3 separate regions of the Homo sapiens genome follow, and regions 2 and 3 are each linked to region 1. The links are contacts of gene promoters, found by promoter capture Hi-C in blood cells and fetal thymus (Javierre and others, 2016). All regions are on one chromosome and are shown on one strand. Each heading gives the region's core, a stretch centred on a gene start or on the middle of the fragment in contact. The rest is flanking DNA. Distances are from core to core; before and after follow the strand shown. Region 1 holds the start of PRPF3 (pre-mRNA processing factor 3). Region 2 overlaps ARNT (aryl hydrocarbon receptor nuclear translocator). Region 3 overlaps MTMR11 (myotubularin related protein 11).

What was found. The method cuts DNA at HindIII sites, captures the fragments that hold promoters and counts their contacts. A CHiCAGO score of 5 or more calls a contact.
Region 2: a contact is called between a fragment that was not itself captured here and the fragment with the promoter of PRPF3 in region 1, in 1 of 17 cell types (monocytes). The highest score is 5.6, in monocytes.
Region 3: a fragment that was not itself captured here is called in contact with the fragment with the promoter of PRPF3 in region 1 in 1 of 17 cell types (neutrophils); the score reaches 5.1 in neutrophils.

The regions. Positions count from the first base shown.
Region 1 is chr1:150,320,277-150,322,788 of GRCh38, forward strand. PRPF3 (pre-mRNA processing factor 3) reads left to right here and starts at 1,257. Exons shown (of 16, transcript NM_004698.4): 1 at 1,257-1,316. RefSeq lists enhancers at 371-936, 1,066-1,115, 1,306-1,355. The HindIII fragment of the contact is 20,070 bases long and covers 1-2,512 here.
Region 2 is chr1:150,830,753-150,833,264 of GRCh38, forward strand. ARNT (aryl hydrocarbon receptor nuclear translocator) reads right to left here. Exons shown (of 22, transcript NM_001668.4): 9 at 1,582-1,647; 10 at 1,066-1,151. Among named protein-coding and RNA genes, the nearest start is that of CTSK, 24 kb to the left of the region's middle. The HindIII fragment of the contact is 1,247 bases long and covers 636-1,882 here.
Region 3 is chr1:149,931,616-149,934,127 of GRCh38, forward strand. MTMR11 (myotubularin related protein 11) reads right to left here. Exons shown (of 17, transcript NM_001145862.2): 8 at 2,240-2,327; 9 at 1,995-2,083; 10 at 1,791-1,915; 11 at 649-715; 12 at 329-399. Among named protein-coding and RNA genes, the nearest start is that of MTMR11, 4.0 kb to the right of the region's middle. The HindIII fragment of the contact is 5,928 bases long and covers 1-2,512 here.

The DNA of each region.
Region 1 (2,512 bases), core at 7-2,506:
TATAAAAATAATGGAATTTTTTCCATTTCTCATATAAGAAATTGTGTCATAATACTGGACAATCTTTTTCCAAACTATCTTTGTCCACACACATGTTGTTATGAATCATCGATTTAAAGAGTCAGTAGGGGCCGGGCGCGGTGGTTCAACCCTGTAATCCCAGCACTTTGGGAGGCCGAGGTGGGCGGATCACGCGGTCAAGAGATGGAGACCATCCTGGCCAACATGGTGAAACCCCGTCTCTACTAAAAATACAAAAGTTAGCTGGACGTGGTGGTCGCGCGCCTGTAGTCCCATCTACTCGGGAGGCGGAAGTTTCAGTGAGCCGAATGCACTCCAGCCTGACGACAGAGCGAGACTCCGTCTCAAAAAATAAAAAATAAAAATAAAAAATAAAGGGTCAGTAGGTTAGAGCCTCATTTTGGAGAGAAGTTAATATATAGACCTATTGATAGAATGGAGAAAACAATACTGGTAGGTCTCACTTGTCATTTATTGAGCCCAAAGTGCTGGGATTACAGGCGTGAGCCACGGCGCCCGGCCTGACACCACTGTTAAATTAGGGAGAAAGGGTTTACTTTCTACCAGAAAGGCTGTGTTTGAACACAAACGCAGAAGCCTCGCTCTTCATTCTAGCCTAAGTTTACTTTTGCGCACTTATTCTCCATATGAGGAAAACAGCAAGTAGCCCAATTTCCGCTTCAGGAAGTTAAAGACATTAACTTGGCAGAAATCGGCCGGGCGCGGTGGCTCACGCCTGTAATCCCAGCACTTTGGAAGGCTGAGGCGGGCGGATCACGAGGCCAGGAGATCGAGACCATCCTGGCTAACACGGTGAAACCCCGGCTCTACTAAAAATACAAAAAATCAGCCGGGCGTGGTGGCGGGCGCCTGTAGTCCCAGCTACTCGGGAGGCTGAGGCAGGAGAATGGCGTGAACCCGGGAGGCGGAGCTCGCAGTGAGCCGAGATCGCGTCACTGCACTCCAACCTGGGCGACAGAGCGAGACTCCGTCTCAAAAAAAAAGCTAAAAAAAAAACCTTGGCAGAAATCTAGCTAATAGGTTTAGCCTGGGAAATAGAAAGCAAGGAAATTGCTCAGGGAAACTTTTCGGTTCTGCGACGCATGCGTTCAGCCTCCAAGAAAGTGGCAAATACGGCTGCGCGAATTGGCGGCCCGGCCCTCCTTGGTCACGTGTTGGGAGACAGCGGCGTGGCGGCGGCGGTGGCGGTAGCGACGGCACGCCGTAGGGCGGTCAGAAGGTTTCCGGTTCCGGTGTAACGTTCGGGCTCCGTCTCAGGGGCTGAAGTTTGTGAGGTGAGTAGTGGCCCCGGGCCCACAGAGGGTAATTCCAGTCCGCGCCACTGTGGCCGGGGACTCAGTCCAAGGGGAGGACCGAAGCGGGAGGGTTCAGCGGGAAGGAGTGTGAAAGGAGTACCTGGTTTGGTGGGAGAAGAGGTTGGAATGAGATTGTTGAGAGGAAAAGGGCGGGGGCGGGAAGGAGACCGGGTTGGGAGACCAGCTCTGGGGTGAGGAGTTTAGGTAGAACAAGGTAGAGTAAGAGACTGGTTGGAGTGACGGAGAGAGTAAAAATGAAGATTAGCGGGGGAGTGGGGGGCTGCAGAGGGAAACTCAGGTTGTAGCAAACAAGAGCACGGAGTAAGGAATTCCTTCTGAAGACTGGATTTGGATTCTGCTGCCTGCTCATTGAGAGGAGAGATCATTGTACCTCGCTTTCCTTCCGCACCCCCACTACCCCCGCACCTCGCAGTTATTGTTGAGCATTTGATTAGTGACAAGGCTAATTACCGTTTGAAACTTTTTTATCCATTGGCTGTTTAGTTTGCACGTCATCTTATGGAGGTAACAGTGGCACCTCATTTATTGCTTTGGGCTTTCAAATTGCTTATACTTTCTAGCCTATCATTCAATTCTAGTGGAATATAAGACCCGTTAAGGTGAGGACTCTTGTTAGTTTTGCTCACTGTTTTATGTATCCACCGCACCTAGTACATTGCTTGACACTTAGTAGTTACTCAATAAATATTTATTGAATGAATTAGGATGTAAATATGGCAGTACTCATTTTGTAAGATGGTAAACTGTGGCTCCAAAGAATTACTTAACTTGCCCAAGGGCTTGTAAATGGTGGGGCTCAGTGTCCCAACTGTTTCTGTGTGAACTCTTGTTTTCACTTTCTATGGCATCTGGATATGCCGCTTTTGTGCAATACATGTGTAATATGTAGAAATTGGTACGCTGTATGTCTACTCATTGTGGGGTAATAGAACCACCATAGAATTACTCACGTAACTTGTCACTGAGGCAGAAAATCTTTCAGTCTTAGTTTCATCACTTCAATCTACTAGCTTCCTTTGGATATACCAAAAGTGAGTCTATTTGGCATCAAGTCTTATAGACTCTAGTATAGAGGCTAAACTTACCAAGAATGTAGAAGTTAATCAGACTGGATTTTTTGGAGAAAAGATGTCTTAAAACATCTTGAAAGATGA
Region 2 (2,512 bases), core at 9-2,508, 510 kb after region 1:
ACAGAAAGGGAAGAAGACTGCATTTCTCCCCTGTTTTTTGCATAGTTATACTCTTTTTATCCAGAAAAATAGTATTCCTTGATGCTACATAGAGGTATGAAAGATCACATACTTTAACTGTGTGGCTTATATAGTATATAGACTAAGTAGTTCAAATGTCATTACTACTTCAGTTAAATTTTTTTAAATTACATTAATTACTTTTATTGGGTTACCTGCCATATGCCAGGCACTGGGCTGGATGCTTTCCTTACATTAAATCTAATCCTCACAAAAACCCTATACAGGATGTACTAACTCTGAATTACAGATGAGAAAACTGAGCTTTATAAAGGTCAAGCAACTTACCCTAGGTGATGCCACTAATAAGTAACAATGACAGGAATCACATCCAGGTTTCTCCACATCCAAAGTTTAACCTTTTTCCAAAACACATCACCTTGCTTCTCTTTTCTCTTAGTTTCTGTCTCCCCAAAACCCCTACTTTCCAATAATACCCAGGCAGCAGGGAAGTAATAAAGTTGCTAAGATTTGGAAACTCTGACAAGCCAACTTAAAACTTTGATCCTGCAACCCAATCACCTTTCTCACATTCCTTGTTTGACCTCAAGTTCTGGTAAAGCTAATCTGCTCAAAGCTTGATTTAAAGTCTTTGCAGAGAATATCCTCTTGATAAGTTATTACAATAAAGGCATTTTCCCCTTTTCTCTCAAAGTCTTGTTCCTACTTTAGAAATCTTTCTCAAATTAACTGCATTCAATGTCTAAGTTTCTTTGCAACAAATGCTTAGAATACATATGTTCAGTATAAATTTGTTCACATAAAAACCACATTCTGTGACACAGCCAATACTGAATCATTTTCCAGCCTGAGTTATCTATCTCCTCAACTGGAATAAAAGCTCAATAATGGAAGGGAAGGATTGTACATTTTCTTTTCCTATTTTCTTTCATCTTACACAAAAGTACATTTCATATACCAGGTATATAATAAATATTAGCTTTCATGGACTCTGTGAGGAACCAACTGTACCAAGGGGAAATATTTACTATTTCACTTTCTTACCTGCTGGGGGCCAGGCCTTGATGTAGCCTGTGCAGTGGACCACCACGAAGTGAGGTTCCCCATCCTTTACAGAGCCAAGTCCATTCCTAGAAGAGTTACAGGAGTTTGAAAAAAAAAAAAAAAATCTACCCGTAAAACTCAAAGGGCAATGCTGCCTTAGTACTTTTAAGTTTATGCTCTTAGGAGTTTAGAAAACAGGATAATCATCTTTCCCACCCAAAAATGACCGCCACATTTTTACCCTTGCCAAAGTAAAGTAACCAAAAGGTATGCAGTAGGAGGAAAGTAGGTAAAATAGCATAGCGACTTCCTTAAACAGGATTTTCAAGAGAAGTTTTAGAAGTTTAGGAAAATATTGCCAGAAAAAAAGTAAGTGGGAGGTAAGGGATGTTAAGTGGGAGGTAAGGGATGCAAGTGAGAGCTGCTGAAGGAACGACTACAGTAAGACAGGTAAAAATGTGATGATCTCTGCAGGTATTTGGCCATCCCTTTGGTTTTCACCACTTAGGATCTCACCTGCATCTGTTCCTCACAAAGCTCAGCCTATTCACAGAAACTGGGTCCACAGAGCTACTGCCACACCTGTTTCAAGGAATAAAGAGATTAAAAGCAATCAGACTGCCCTATCAAAGAACTTTCCACAGTAATAGCAGAATAACATGCTCTGGATACAACCAGACATAGAAAATTGGTAATGCTACTAATAATGAAGGATAAAGATAGGTCAAGTTTAGTATTTCTAAAACTTTTAGAATTTGAAGTCAAAATGTTCCATATGTTCTTCATATGCAAACATTCTCAACATCAAGAGTTGGCAAGCTTTTTCTGTAAAGGACCAGATAGTACATATTTTCAGCTTTGCGGGCCAGAAAGTCTGTTGCAACTAGTCAACTCTAGCATTATAGCATGAAAATAGCCATAGATAATATGTAAAAATATGGGCATGGCTATGTTCCAATAAAACTTTATTTACAAATAAAGGGCTGTGGTTTGCTTACTCCTGCTCTACATTAACCACAACTTAATGTAATTGCTACAGTTCATTATTATCTTGCTCTTGCCTATGTCTTTGCATTAGCCATGTCCACATATTGGGATACTCCTGCCAATGCTACTTTCCCTCTCCCTATCCTTTAAAACAAAAATAAAACTTACATAGGGTTAATATGTGTCATGCTCTGTTCTAAATATCTTTACATATATTAATTCATCTAATCTTCATAACAACTTTATAAAGTCAGTATTAACATTATCGCCAATGTGAGATGATGAAATCAAAGCACAATGTAGTCATGTAATCATCCAAGGTTTCAGAAGATAGCATCAAAGCTAGAATTCAAATCCATAGAATATGGATTAAAACAAAATCCAGCAGTCTGGGTCTAGAAGCTACTCTAAATTACACGCTGGGTGCAGTGGTTCAGGCCTGTAATCTCAGCACTTTGGG
Region 3 (2,512 bases), core at 9-2,508, 390 kb before region 1:
CACCCGGATAGAAATACCCAGTTTCACATGTAAGGGGCAGAATCACAATTCTCAAACCAGCTTCCACACTGCCCTTCCCACCCCAACCCCAGTCTCCATCCGCTGATGGAAGGAAAGGAACAAAGGGGCTAAGACCATCCTAGTGTCAGGGACCACAAGTTGTGATGGGGAGGCAGAGGTAGCACTGAAGGATGAGAGTAGAGCTCGCAGGTAGTTCCCAGGAACAGGAGAGGAAGAAGCCTTATGGGTCTCCCTCCCTGAATGCAATCTGGTCAGGTGGGTAAAGAAAAGAGGCAAGGAATGGAATGGGCTTAACCAAGGAACTCACCTTGAAGTATTACAGAACGAACCCTGGATGTCACTAATACTGAAATGTCACTGGCCTTTCGAAGACAAGCCCTGGAGGAGCAGGTGAGGAAGAGGGAGGAAGAATGATAAGCCTAGGGGAATGGAGTGATTTTGATGGGTCATGGGATGGAATAAGGCCGACTCCAAATCCTACCCCTCCTCCTTCTAAAGAGCAGAAAATGGCAGTCTTCTTGGGAAACCGAGGAGAAGAACTAAAGAAAGGCCATTTAGGACCCCAAGTTAACAGAAGGTTGAGGAAGGTTGAATTATAAATGATGGCTAGAAGAAGCGAGGGAGTACCTGACATAGTCCAGCCATCGTGTTCCTTCCAGGGCTGAAAGCCATTTATCCTCAGCTACAGATGAATCTGATAGAGGGTAGAAAGATCAGAAGGGCAAGAGATTAGAACTCAGGATTCAGGATTCAGGTTGATAGCCTGCTGGGTTAAGAACAGGAATGAAAAGTAATTGTAAATGGCCAGGATGGTTTCTAAAATTAAACTGTGGTGATGGTTGTACAACATTGTAAATATAATAAAACTCACTGAATTGTATACTTCAGTGAAGGGTAAATTTTATGGTATGTACATTATGTCTCAATAAAGCTGTTTAAAGAATAAATTGGGGTCAAGAAGACAGGAAACCAGTGAGTCTGTGGGAGAGGTGGGAGAGGTGGGAGGTGAGTAGAAAACAGTCTCACTGGCCGGGCACGACGGCTTGTGCCTGTAATCCCAGCGCTTTAGGAGGCCTTGGTGGGTGGATCATCTGAGGAGTTTGAGACCAGCCTAGTCTAACACGGGGAACATGGTGAAACCTCGTCTCTACTAAAAATACAAAAATTAGCCAGGCATGGTGGCAGGCGCCTGTAATCCCAGCTACTCAGGAGGCTGAGGCAGGAGAATCGCTTGAACATGGGAGTTGGAGGTTGCAGTGAGCCGAGATCACGCCACTGCACTCCAGCCTGGGCCACAGAGGGAGACTCCGTCTCATCTGCCTTTTTTTTTTTTTTTAAGACAAGTTTCACTCTTGTCGCCCAGGCTGGAATGCAATGGCACATTCTCAGTTCACCCGCCTCCTGGGTTCAAGCGATTCTTGTGCCTCAGCCTTCCAAGTAGCTGGGATTACAGGCATCGGCCACCACACCCAGCTAATTTTGTGTGTGTGTGTATTTTTAGTAGAAACGGGGTTTCACCATGTTGGCCAGGTTGGTCTTGAACTCCTGCCCTCAAGTGATCTGCCCACCTCGGCCTCCCATAGTGGTGGGATTACAAGCGTGAGCCACCATGCCCAGCCGAGACTCCGTCTCAAGAAAAAAGAAAAGAAAAGAAAACGGGCTCATTGGACTAAAGAGCTACTCATCTACAGCAAGCAAAGGGTAAACCAGGTTAGGCTCAGCAGACCTAGGGGTGAGGGTGAGGGTTAGGGGTCAAAGGTTATTCTCACCAGGCAGGCAGAGGGCCCTCAGCCTCAGGTGGGCAAGTTGGACATCTGCAAGGCTGGGCAGCTCATCCATAGTGTCTACCAGGACAACATCTGAATGCCCAGCCTGGAGCATCAACTCCACTGCTCTGGAGGGGAGGGAGTCAGGAAATAAGGAGTCTACCCTGAGCACCTAACCCTTGATTCTTCTCATCAAGCCTCCCTCACCTGATATCCTCCTTGTTAGGGTCACTGGCTGTATAGAAGCCTCCACAGCGGAGAAGATCACTGCCCCCAGGGTGATGCCAGGACAAGCGCTTCACATGGGGCAGAAGAGGGTCATTGTGGGAGAAATGCCTAGCTCCACGCTACCCTTGCCCCCACACTGACCTCACAGAGGTTCCTCCCTCCACGATGTCCCTGGCCCACATGACCCTCTAATCCACAGCCATTACCCTAACCATCACACTGACCGGTCCACGGCCCTGATGAAAGTGGCCAAATGCTCTCCTGACCTCACTGTCCAGAATTCGGTTAGGGACCCAGAAGTAACGGGGGAGGCTGTGAAATGAGAGTGATATTACAGTTTGGCTCAGTGACTTCATTATAATGGAAAGCTCTTATTACAAGGAAGCTGCTTCAGAGGGACCATTCCAAGGGATTTCAGGTTTAGGGATCTAGGAGGCAAGGGAGATAGCTTTGTGGGTGTCCTAGGAGGCTGGAGTTTGTGGGAAGTCCTAGCTTTA